2 separate regions of the Homo sapiens genome follow, and region 2 is linked to region 1. The links are contacts of gene promoters, found by promoter capture Hi-C in blood cells and fetal thymus (Javierre and others, 2016). All regions are on one chromosome and are shown on one strand. The core of a region is centred on a gene start or on the middle of the fragment in contact, and the rest is flanking DNA. Distances in the headings are between cores, read along the strand shown. Region 1 holds the start of SCAT2 (S-phase cancer associated transcript 2). Region 2 overlaps COPZ1 (coat protein complex I subunit zeta 1).

Evidence for each region. The method cuts DNA at HindIII sites, captures the fragments that hold promoters and counts their contacts. A CHiCAGO score of 5 or more calls a contact.
Region 2: a fragment that was not itself captured here is called in contact with the fragment with the promoter of SCAT2 in region 1 in 3 of 17 cell types (erythroblasts, neutrophils and megakaryocytes); the score reaches 8.3 in erythroblasts.

The regions. Positions count from the first base shown.
Region 1 is chr12:54,258,514-54,264,329 of GRCh38, reverse strand. It overlaps SCAT2 (S-phase cancer associated transcript 2), which reads right to left and starts at 1,715. Exons shown (of 2, transcript NR_157844.1): 1 at 1,393-1,715. All of the region lies in intron 1 of CBX5 (chromobox 5), which reads left to right. RefSeq lists an enhancer at 4,843-5,012. The HindIII fragment of the contact is 3,994 bases long and covers 1-3,791 here.
Region 2 is chr12:54,335,989-54,341,387 of GRCh38, reverse strand. COPZ1 (coat protein complex I subunit zeta 1) reads right to left here. Exons shown (of 9, transcript NM_016057.3): 2 at 773-841. It overlaps MIR148B (microRNA 148b), which reads right to left and starts at 4,172; the gene lies at 4,074-4,172. The HindIII fragment of the contact is 2,332 bases long and covers 261-2,592 here.

The DNA.
Region 1 (5,816 bases), core at 466-2,965:
AAAAAATGTAGCCAGGCATGGTGGCGTGCCCCTGTGGTCCCAGCTGCTCAGAAGGCCAAGGTGAGAGGATTGCTTGAGCCCAGGAGTTTGAGACTGCAATAAACTGTCCGCACCACTGCACTGCAGCCTGAACAACAGAACGAGGCCCTGTCTCAAAAAAGAAATGACTGGAGGGATGAGAGTAGAACCTGAACTGGACAAAGCAGACAGATACCAGGGACCCTATGTGGGTTCTTCCAGCATTAAACGGTCAATGCTGAGGGCTAACCATTACCTCTTTTTTATTTGAGACGGAGTCTCACGCTGTCTCCCAGGCTGGAGTGCAGTGGTGCGATCTCGGCTCACTGCAAGCCCCGCCTCCTGGGTTCACACCATTCTTTTGCCTCAGCCTCCCCAGTAGCTGGGACTACAGGCTCCCGCCACCACATCTGGCTAATTTTTTGTATTTTTAGTAGAGACAGGGTTTCACCATGTTAGCCAGGATGGTCTCAATCTCCTGACCTCGTGAGCCACTGCGCCTGGCCTTTTTTTTTCTTTTTTCTTTTCTTTTTTTTTTTTTTTTTTTTTGAGATAGAGTCTTACCCTGTTGCCCAGGCTGGAGTGCAGTGGCGCGATCTCAGCTCACTGCAACCTCCGCCTCCCGTTTAAGCGATTCTCCTGCCTCACCCTCCTGAGTAGCTGGGATTACAGGTGCGTAACTGCCTCAGCCTCCCGAGTAGCTGGGATTACACCACGCCTGACTAATTTTTTTGTGTCTTTAGTAGAGACGGGGTTTCACCATGTTGGCCAGGCTGGTCTCAAACTCCTGACCTCATGATCCACCTGCCTTGGCTTCCCAAAGTGCTGGGATTACAGGCGAGAGCCGCTGTGCCGGCCTACCTCTTGTTTTTCTGGGTTGCCCTAGCTTGCTTGTGATGCCCTCTCTGTAATTGCTGAGGACTGATAAGTTTTTTGTTTGGTTTTTTTTTGAGACGGAGTTTTGCCCTTGTTGTCCAGGCTGGAGTGCAATGGCTTGATCTCGGCTCACTGCAACCTCCATCTTCTGGGTTCAAGTGATTCTCCTGCCTCAGCCTCCCAAGTAGCTGAGATAACAGGTGCCTGCCACCACACCTGGCTAATTTTTGTATTTTTAGTAGAGACAGGGTTTCACCATGTTGGCCAGGTTGGTCTGGAACTCCTGACCTCAGGAGATCTGCCCGCCTCGGCCTACCAAAGTGCTGGGATTACAGGCGTGAGCCACCGCGCCCAGCCTCTTTTCTCATCTCAATGGGCCTTAGGTGCTGTAATCTATAGTTATTGGTAGCTTTACCAGATAGTTCCTATGTATATTTAAGAGAGAAGGCTGAGAGCTGTTATGCCTGAAAGACTCCAGAAATTTGAGAAGCTACTCACCCTTTCCCTTGGAGATTTCCACAAGGATAAGGTTGTGTTCAGAGGCTCATCTTCTTTTCCTCTGTCATGGTATTGGGATTCTATCTTAATCACTCCATCATCCTGCCAGCCATGTCTCATTTCTCATGCTGGAAAGCTCCCTCCTCCTAAGCTCAGTGTGAACCACCAGTCTTGATGCTTTATCTGGTCTAGGCTCTAGCCCTTAAATTGTTTGACTGGCTTTGTGTTTCATTTGACCCTAATACTCCGGGTCACACTGTCTAAAAGAGAATTATGTCCCCTCCGATGTCTGAGTGCATTTCTCATTTCTTACTGCTGCTCCTGAGCAGATCTGTAACTTCAAGGTTAAGATAAGACACATTCCATCAGAACTATGTCGTCATCCTTGCCAGCTTCTGATCTGTGACTGTCTAGGAGATTTACAAGACAATTGCATGCCATCCTTTAAAGAATATTATGGTTGTACTCTGACTCCTGGCATCAGGCCCAATTCGATTTGTCAGTGGTTACAAAACCCATTTCCCAAAAAGAAAAGGACCTCGGCCCATGTGCCCTTTAGGCAGTTCTTAAGGGTGGAAAGGAGGGAATTGAACTCAATCTTTATTTTCTGATGTTTTGTGGGGAGGGGTGGACACCAGAATATTTTTGTCTCTTTCCTCATTAAATTCACTTTTCTTTCTCTGAAAGGTTTCACCAAAATGTTAGTATTGCTGTCATTCTCTCCTGTTCCTTATTCCTTCACAGAGTTACTATTAGTCTTTTCATTCTGCCATCTTTAAAGTTTGTCTGAGTTTTAAGGAATAAGTATTTTGCCCTTGAGAGAGAACGTACCTACCCTGTTCTCTGAAGGTTTATTCGTTTTCCAGTGCCTAGTTAACAAAGACACTGTTCCTCTTTTTCTTGCTATCTACTAATGTGTTGAGCTGCAGGAGTTACTGCATGTGATATGGTTTACTAGCTTAGGAATTTGGAAGGTCACATATTTTCTTCTGCTGTTGTATTCAGCCCTGACATATTTTTACAGAAGGTTCTTTTTGGGGGACTTAATAGATCTTTGGTTTCAACATAAACTCACTTTTTCCCTCGGAGGTACGTAGGGCAGGTAGTACAGATTTATTTAGCCCGTTTAAATGATGCCGGGGTTAGATGGAAAATTTATTTACTCAGGATAACACATGGCAAGTTAATCAGAGTCAGGATCCTATTTAAATGTTTGTTATTGTTTTTATATCCCTTAATTATGAAAAGTTAAAAGGTAAGAGTTGAAAAATGCCGTTTTTAATTGGAGGTTTGCTGATGGTCCATTCAAATCTGAGGAAATCTTTTGTAATTAAAAAATTTCTGGCCGGGTGCAGTGTCTCATGCCTGTAATCCCAGCACTTTGGGAGGCCCAGGTGGGCGGATCACAAGATGAGGAAATCGAGACCATCCTGGCCAACATGATGAAACCCCATCTCTGCTAAAAATACAAAAATTAGCTGGGCGTGGTGGCACATGCCTGTAATCCCAGCTACTTGGGAGGCTGAGGCAGGAGAATCCCTTGAACCAGGGAGTTGGAGGTTGCAGTAAGCCGAGATGGCGCCACAGCACTCTAGCCTGGTGACAGAGCGAGACTCCGTCTCAAAAAAAAAAAAGAAAAAAGAAAAAAATTTCTACTTTGGTCTTACACCCTATGGTTTCTTCTGTTTGACAGTCGTAATAGTCACCATTGTGCTTCTTCTCAACTGAGTTCTTTTTTTTTTTTTTTTGAGACGGTTTCGCTCTTGTTGCTCAGGCTGGAGTGCAGTGGCGCAGTCTCGGCTCACTGCAACCTCTGCCTCCCAGGTTCAAGCGATTCTCCTGCCTTAGCCTCCCAAGTAGCTGGGATTACAGGCAAGTGCTACTATGTCTGGCTAATTTTTGCATTTTTAGTAGAGATGGGGCGTCACCATGTTGGTCAGGCTGGTCTCGAACTCCTGACCTCAGGTAATCCACCTGCCTCGGCTTCCCAAAGTGCTGGGATTACAGGTGTGAGCCACTGTTCCTGGCTCAACTGAGTTCTTTGCTTTTGATTGTCCCTTTTTCTTACTCTCCTATGGCAGCCACTTCTGGCTTTAAAGTTCCCACATCTATAAAGCAGAGTAGAGTTTTGGAGCTCTCTAAAATGTTCTTTAGAGCCAGAAGAATGGAAAACTTACAGTATTTCAAGTCTCTATATATCTTTTTTATTTATCCTAGTACTCCTTTTCTCAAGTATTGAGACATACTGATACAGAGAGTTGTATATTAATAATGTATCAGGTGATGAATAATTATTTAAAAATCTGTTTTATAACATTATAGAGCAACCTATAAGTGGTTTAAATTTATCAACCATTAGGTTGTGGCAGAACTGCTCTCCTCTTTTTTTTTTTTAAGCTTCTTAGGAATTTTTTTCCACCTAAATTCATTTTGTTTTATTTTTTCGAGACAGTCTCACTCTTGTCGCCCAGGCTGGAGTGCAGTGGTGCGATCTAGGCTCACTGCAACCTCTGCCTCCTGGGTTCAAGCGATTTCTCCTCCCTCAGCCCCCTGAGGAGCTGGGACTATATGCGCCTGCCACCACACCTGGCTAATTTTTTTGTATTTTTAGTAGAGACGGGGTTTCACCACGTTGGTCAGGCTAGTCTTGAGCACGTGACCTCAAATGATTGCCCCGTCCCGGCCTCCCAAAGTTCTGGGATTACAGGCATGAGCCACTGCACCTGGCCCTCCACCTCTAATTTTAGTTAAAAGGGGTTTTTTTTTTTTTTTTTTTTGGTTGTTGTTTTGGTAGTGCTTCATGTCTTTGGATTTTGTCTCTAGTAATCCCCCCAAAGAAGGAAAGTTATATAGTGTCTTTAAAATACTTCCCCTCCCCTGTTTCCTGTTATTTTTCCCCTCAAGCAATTTTAATTAACTGTTCTGTGACAGACGGTAAAATGGGATTGCCCAAAGTGCTCTGGTGGGCTGGATTAAGTGATGGGTGGTTTGTACTGATCGTGTTGTAGAAGGATCGAGCCTTTCCCCTCCCCCTTCAGTTGAGCTGTAATCTTGTTAGATGATCTTAAAATGTTATTGATTAATTCACAGTGCTGTTAGAGGAATAAGCATAAATACTGGATTTAAAACCTAAGAAGTAATTCCCTTAAGCTCTGAATGCCTTAGCCTTGAGGCCAAGAGAGGTACCTTCCAATTTCTCCACCCAGTCTTCACTGAAAAGGAAAGTTAAGCCTTTTAACTTTTCCATTTGCTTCTCCCCCTTAGTGTAGTACTGCTGCCAGTTGCTATGGCAACGGACTGGGACAGCTGCGCAGTGGCGCCCAGGCAGCTGGGTGGGGGCAGGGGAGCTGCCAGCCCGCCAAGACCCAGACCTGGGAGGGGAGGCCCCTCCTGTTAGCCCAGAGGGAAAGAAAGAACTGGGGCGATCCGGTAGGTAAAGGAGGGAACCCCCATTCATTTTCTACCTTTGGGGCTCCTCTTCTGCATGAAGGTATAAAGGGAGATTTTCCTTGTCTCTCCCTCAAAATGAAGAACACATGTAAATCCTTGTTTTTCCTGGTGAGGCAGGGGAGGCCATAGCCACAATGCTTAACTGCATGCATCTAACATGGGGCTGGTTTTAACCCCAGCGCTCTGACCTAAACTGCTCAGCTCCCGGAAATTCCAAGGTGAGTGGTGGTGGGGGTGGGGTACTCTCCCTGGAATATGACATTTCCTGTCTCTGGTGAGGTTGGAGGCTGTTTTATTTTAAATAAAGCACATAAGATATTTTCTTGAAGCTTAGGACTCTTCTAAATTCATGGAAAAATTATTTTAACCCCCCCGCACCTACATTTTGCTACTACTTCCTCTTCCAAATAGAGTATTTTAATAAAAACTTAGTCTTATAGGGCAGTAATGGGTATAGGCAGTTTTTTAGGTGGGCAGACCTATAGCTAATAAGTTCTGGAGATATGGTCTCCAACTATATATTCTTGTAATAATTTTTAAAATTTTGCTAATTTGAAGTGAATTGATAATTGCCACTTTTTATGTGACTTGAACATCATTCTGAGGTTAGTAGTGGGCCCTCCCTGACCCAGTGGTTTTCTGGTCAGGGTGGAAATATTTAGAGGGTGCTGATAAACATCTTTAAAGATTACAGGAAAATAATAATGGAGTTCAGCTAAGAAAACAATTTCTGCTACTCTGTAATCCAGACTGTAGGCACCATTTAGCATGGTTAAGGAAGAATTCTTAAAAATGATTATGGAACAACAACATGGGAATTTTTAAAACTAGATTCTCTGTTGAGTACCCCCTGGTGTGCATATTTCTGAGCTTAACTCAATTTCCATTTGTGTTTCCTTGCTTCAGCTTTCCTTGGGCCTATGAATGGTTCCTCTGTATTTTGAGGAGGCTTCATGTTGATGCTGAGTCTGGGG
Region 2 (5,399 bases), core at 177-2,676, 77 kb before region 1:
TATGGAGGGAGAGAGGGTGTCCTTTCTTCTTTCTTCCAACAGATCTAAAGTTGGAAACATCACTCTGGGAAAGTCAGGAGGTAACAAGCTTGATGGTGACTATAAACCTAGGAATGGAAACCTGGAACTGCAAGACAATTCTCTGGAAAAACCCAGGCAGGGTGACATGGTATGAGGGAAGGGGACAGGAATGATGGACATGGGCGGACTGCCTCTTAGCATCTACATACTGCTTTGTTAGGAACCAAAGTTTCAAAGCTTTTCCCTGATCTGATGCTGACAACAAAGGAGGTCAAAGTCTGAGGACAGCAAGCAGGGCAGCAGTACAACTAAGGGACAAAAGAAAACAGGTTTTATCTGGAGTAGGCAAGATAAGATGGAAGAATTCAGGCCGGGTGTGGTGGCTCACACCTGTAATCCCAACACTTTGGGAGGCCAAGGCGGGCGAATCATGAGGTCAGGAGTTTGAGACCAGTCTGGCCAACCTGCTGAAACCCTGTCTCTACTAAAGATACAAAAAATTAGCCGGGGGTGGTAGCGCGTGCCTGTAATCCCAGCTACTTGGGAGGCTGAGGCTGCAGTGAGCCAAGGTCACGCCATTGCACTCCAGCCTGGGTGATAAGAGCGAAACTCCATCTCAAAAAAAAAAGATGGAAGTATTCTCAAAATTATACTACTGAGGAACATAAGTTAATAAGGTATCAGTCCCAAGATTCAAATCTCAGAATAAACCTTTGTGCTGTTCCTAAACTAATTCGAAAGGGAATCTCACCTTGGCAAAAAGTCGATCTCCATCATTGTCCAGAATCAGGATGGCTTTGACAGTATACAGGGAAGGTTCCTGAAGAGATACGAACATACCTTCAGTCCTGAAGCCTCCCATCACCACTGGTAAACCAGATACCTTCCCCTAGTCCCACTGGGGCTGCAAGGGGATACAGAGGTACCTCTGTAAGTCCCTTACCTCAACTTGGTCAGATTTTGATATTTCCCATTGAGAAAGACCCAGGGTAAGTAAACTGAATTGACAGAGAAAGCATTTAAACAAAGGATTCCAAAGTACCATCAGAGAAACAGTTTCTCTGACTCACAGGGGGCTTAATCAAGAGAGGTCATGCTGTTATTTCCAAATATTATGGTACAGTTATTTTCCAAATTACCCTCTCCCTTCCTGCTCTCCCATGTACAGGTGGCTATAGAATGTGACCAGATTAATTAAAAGGCACTGAACAAAGCCATTTGAAAATAGGGTTGAATGTCCTAGTATACTTGGAAGTTTCTGCAGTCCGAATGCAGTAGCAATGCAGAAGCATAAAGCAAGCCTTCCCTAAACCACCCACACACTAAGCAGAGGGAAAAGAGCGTTTACACACACACACACACACACACACACACACACACACACACGCACAGGCACACCAGTTCTCAATGCAGCCTAGTAAAACAGCCATCTTCAAAAACTCTCCTATGTTCTCCAATTCTTCCACTATACCTTAACCACTACCACTTAACTTCCAAGGACAAAAGCCAACCTGAATTTTGGGGGAGTTAAGAAGCAGTGAGAAGATGATCTATCTGAGAAACACTCTGGGGCCTAGAGTGAGTGAGCAAGAGGGTAATTTTTTTTCCACTACCAAGAATCAAATAAGGAATCACGGCCTCAGTCTTAATGGTTCTTCTTCAACTGTAAGTATATCACTTGCAAAACCTGTGGTGGTCTGTTGCTCTCCTCTACCACTGCAACTTCAAGGGAGCCAGCTAACTAGGAGAAGGAAAATCGCAGGAGGCTGAGGCAGGAGGATTGCTTAAGGCCAGTTCAAGACCAGCCTGGGAAACACAGGGAGACCCCCCATCTCTACAAAAATAAAAAAAATTAGCCAGGTGTGGTGGCGTGCATCTATAGTCCTAGCTACTCAGGAGGCTGAGGTGATAGGATCTCTTGAGCCCAGGAGTTTAAGACCACGCTGAGCTAGGACTGCGCCACTGCACTCCAGGCTGGGTGACAGAGTGAAACCCCATCTCTAATTGATTGAATAGAAAAAACCAAAAGTGTGGAGAGATAGTGATGTGTGCATGAAAGGTATTTGCAGCCTCACATTCCTTGACTTTCTTTTTTTTTTTTTTTTTTTTAAGAGAAAAGGTGTCACTGTATTGTTCAGGCTGGTCTTGAACTCCTAGGCTCAAACAATCCTCCCACCTAGGCCTCCCAAAGTGCAAGTGTGAGCCACTGCGCCCGACCTACATTCCTTGACTTTCTAATCAACATTACTTACCATTGATATCCCTTGTGCTGAGACAAGGCTGTTGCTTTGCTACCTCTTTCCTGGCCTTATTTAAGAAACCCACAGTCCTCACAGGAGCCAAACACAAAAGTATGTGTTTGACAGATATCCAAGAGTGAGGAGGAAAAAATCATTGCCAAGAACCCAGAAACTGCAGCCTCTACAAACATAAATTGCCTCATGAGGCTTCAGGAGGTTTATGGTTCCATGCAAAGAATCAACCCTGTTTGCGGGGGCAGAGGAGGGCAGTTCAGAATGGAAGTAAAAGGAACCCAGTCTTTTGACAACAAGGTGATGAGGAACATAAGCTTTCCCTACTTGAATTCTTGAGGACTGCAATTTTTGTTTTGTTCGCTGGTTTGTCCCATTTGTCCAGAACAATGCCTGACACATACTAAACTCTCAATATTTGGTGAATAATTCAGAGAATAAAGGAAGTTTGAGAATAAAGTTAAAATACCTTGACGCAGTATGCATCTAAGGGACTACTTATAATTAGACCTCCACATATAAGTGGATTTTCTGATGTGGCCACTTTGGGTGATATTACTACCAACTTTATCCCTCCTCTGATAAACACTCCTTAGAGATGTCCATCCTGTATATATAACACTCTGGAATAAACAAGGCATGAGTAACTCCTCTCTCAAACTAAAGAACTTTGTTGCCTAGTGGAGGGAAGTCCTCTAGAGTCTAGTCTTAAAAGGTCACAAGTAGAAGCAGCTCTCCTAACTCCTAATTCCTCACAGAAAGATCTTCCTGTAAAGCAGGCTCAGTTCTATAACAACTTGGGTCCTCAATTCCAAAAGGGAGACAACAATGGGAATGAGTTTTCTTAATGGAAGAAAAGAAGTCCAAAAGGAACAAAATTTAGACGAAATCATTTTTTCCCACAACCTTTTCCTGGAAATCTTTGGCTCTGTTCCTCTATCCACATTCACAGCAACTTTAGAGAGCTGCCCATTAGTTTAAGCTGGGCATTAACCTGGCATAGGAAACTGGTTCTTGCAGCCATAGAGTTTGGCATCCCTAGAACCCAAAGAAAAGCAAAGCCCTAATGGCCCCCAGCCAACTGGGAGAGTCAGACAATGTCCTTTGTGGCCAACAGGGTGTGAGTGCCTACAACAGCCACACCGGCAAAGAGAGAACATATCCCTGGGTTCTGCTCTTGGTTCTTTTCACTGGCTTCCTAGAAGACATTATCAAAGAAACCCCAAAAATAGAAACATTGGATCTTCCTGGGAAGAATAAAAGACAGGCTAAGGAGGACAAGGATAAAGACTAGATTTGACATAGAGCTTACTGGAGCTCTCAAAAGGGAAAGAAGGCATTACAGAAAAGGCTGGTCATTTCAAACTTCCAAAGGAGGAAGCATACTAAATAAAGCTGAGAATTTAGGCAGGCGCTTAAATGCCGCTTCAATTCTCCATTCTGCTACAGCTGGAGCCAGCAGCTTCTTTACTTCTCCTGCCACCTCCTGACTGCAGCTGGTTCCACTTCAGCCTGGGGCTTTTACCTCTCAGGAGTGGGGAGGGCTATGCCATAAAACTAGCCAGTTTAAAGGCCCCAGAAGTCATTACTGATAATGTAATTTCATTTTAAGTTTTTGCAAAGGGCAAGTTTATAAATAACTCCCAGCTACTGAGAAATGGGCTTCCAGGACAATGGACTAGGCTTGACCTTGTAACACATTAAATGCTGACTGTTGAGAAAGACCTTATCAGCTTAGGGCCACACTGAAAGAATTTAAAAGGTCTATTCTTCCCTCCCACTCCCAAAATGGGTAGCTGCTAGAAAGCTTTCGAGACAAAGTTCTGTGATGCACTGACTTTCAGAGAGCCACAGCCTGAGTGTATAACAGAACTTCACCTCAAATGCTAATCGTGCTTGGAAATGATGTATAGGCAGATTGTTTTGTGGGAGATTGGGTGACTTAGACAGATTTTCATGTATTTATGTTTTTATTATCAAGAAAACAAGAATGCTGTCCTCAAGACAGGTGAAACACCACAGAACAAGCAACTAGGCTGCTGCAAATGAATCTTTGATCTCAGGGGCTTCTTTTTTTTTTTTTTTTTTTTTTTTTGCGACAGTCTCTCTCTGTCACCCAGGCTGGAGTGCAGTGGAGCAAACTCCGCTCACTACAACCTCCACCTCCCGGATTCAAGTGATTCTTGTGCCTCAGCCTCCCGGGTAGCTGGGACTACAGGCACACACCCCCATGCCCAGCTAATTTTTGTATTTTTAGTAGAGACGGGGTTTCACCAAATTGGCCAGGCTGGTCTCGAACTCCTGACCTCATGATCTGCCTGCCTCGGCCTCCCAAAGTGCTGGGATTACAGGCGTGAGCCACCGTGCCCGGCCTCAATCAGGGGCTTCTAAAGCCTGGTGAAAAGCATCAACATCTCCAAGAACTCTCTCCCCTAGCGCATAGAGGACTAGAGGGAAAGAGTCATTCCTAGTGCTGCCCCCTGTGGGCCTTCTCGGTGACCTGCAGCTTCCACAGGATTACAGTCATAAGCAAAAATATTTTTCAAAGGCAGCTCTGGATAAGAGCTTTTTTTTTTTTGAGACGGAGTCTCGCTCTGTCGCCCAGGCTGGAGTGCAGTGGCACGATCTCAGCTCACTGCAAGCTCCGCCTCCTGGTTCAAGCTCTCCTGCTTCAGCCTCCCGAGTAGCTGGGACTACACGCACCTGCCACCATGCCCGGCTAATTTTTTGTATTTTTAGTAGGGATGGGGTTTCACTGTAGCCAGGATGGTCTCAATCTCCTGACCTCGTGATCCGCCCGCCTCGGCCTCCCAAAGTGCTGGGATTACAGGCGTGAGCCACCGCACCCGGCAAAAGCTCTCTATTTGTGTGTCTTGTAGGACAAACTAGTAGAGATGGGCCCTGAAAAATAAGTGAATTAAGTCTGTTCACAATGTATATAGTAAGAGAACTCTTTGGGGTAAGATCTTAGTAAGCCACCAGAAGACTGGGAGAATATGTTTGGGGAAGGTAGAGAGGATACTTGGAAACTATAATGAATTATTTGATTCATTTAGGGGAAAAAACCAAGAAGCCTCTATGGAGGGAATTACAGGATGCCATCTACAGAGCTGAAAGAGCACAAAT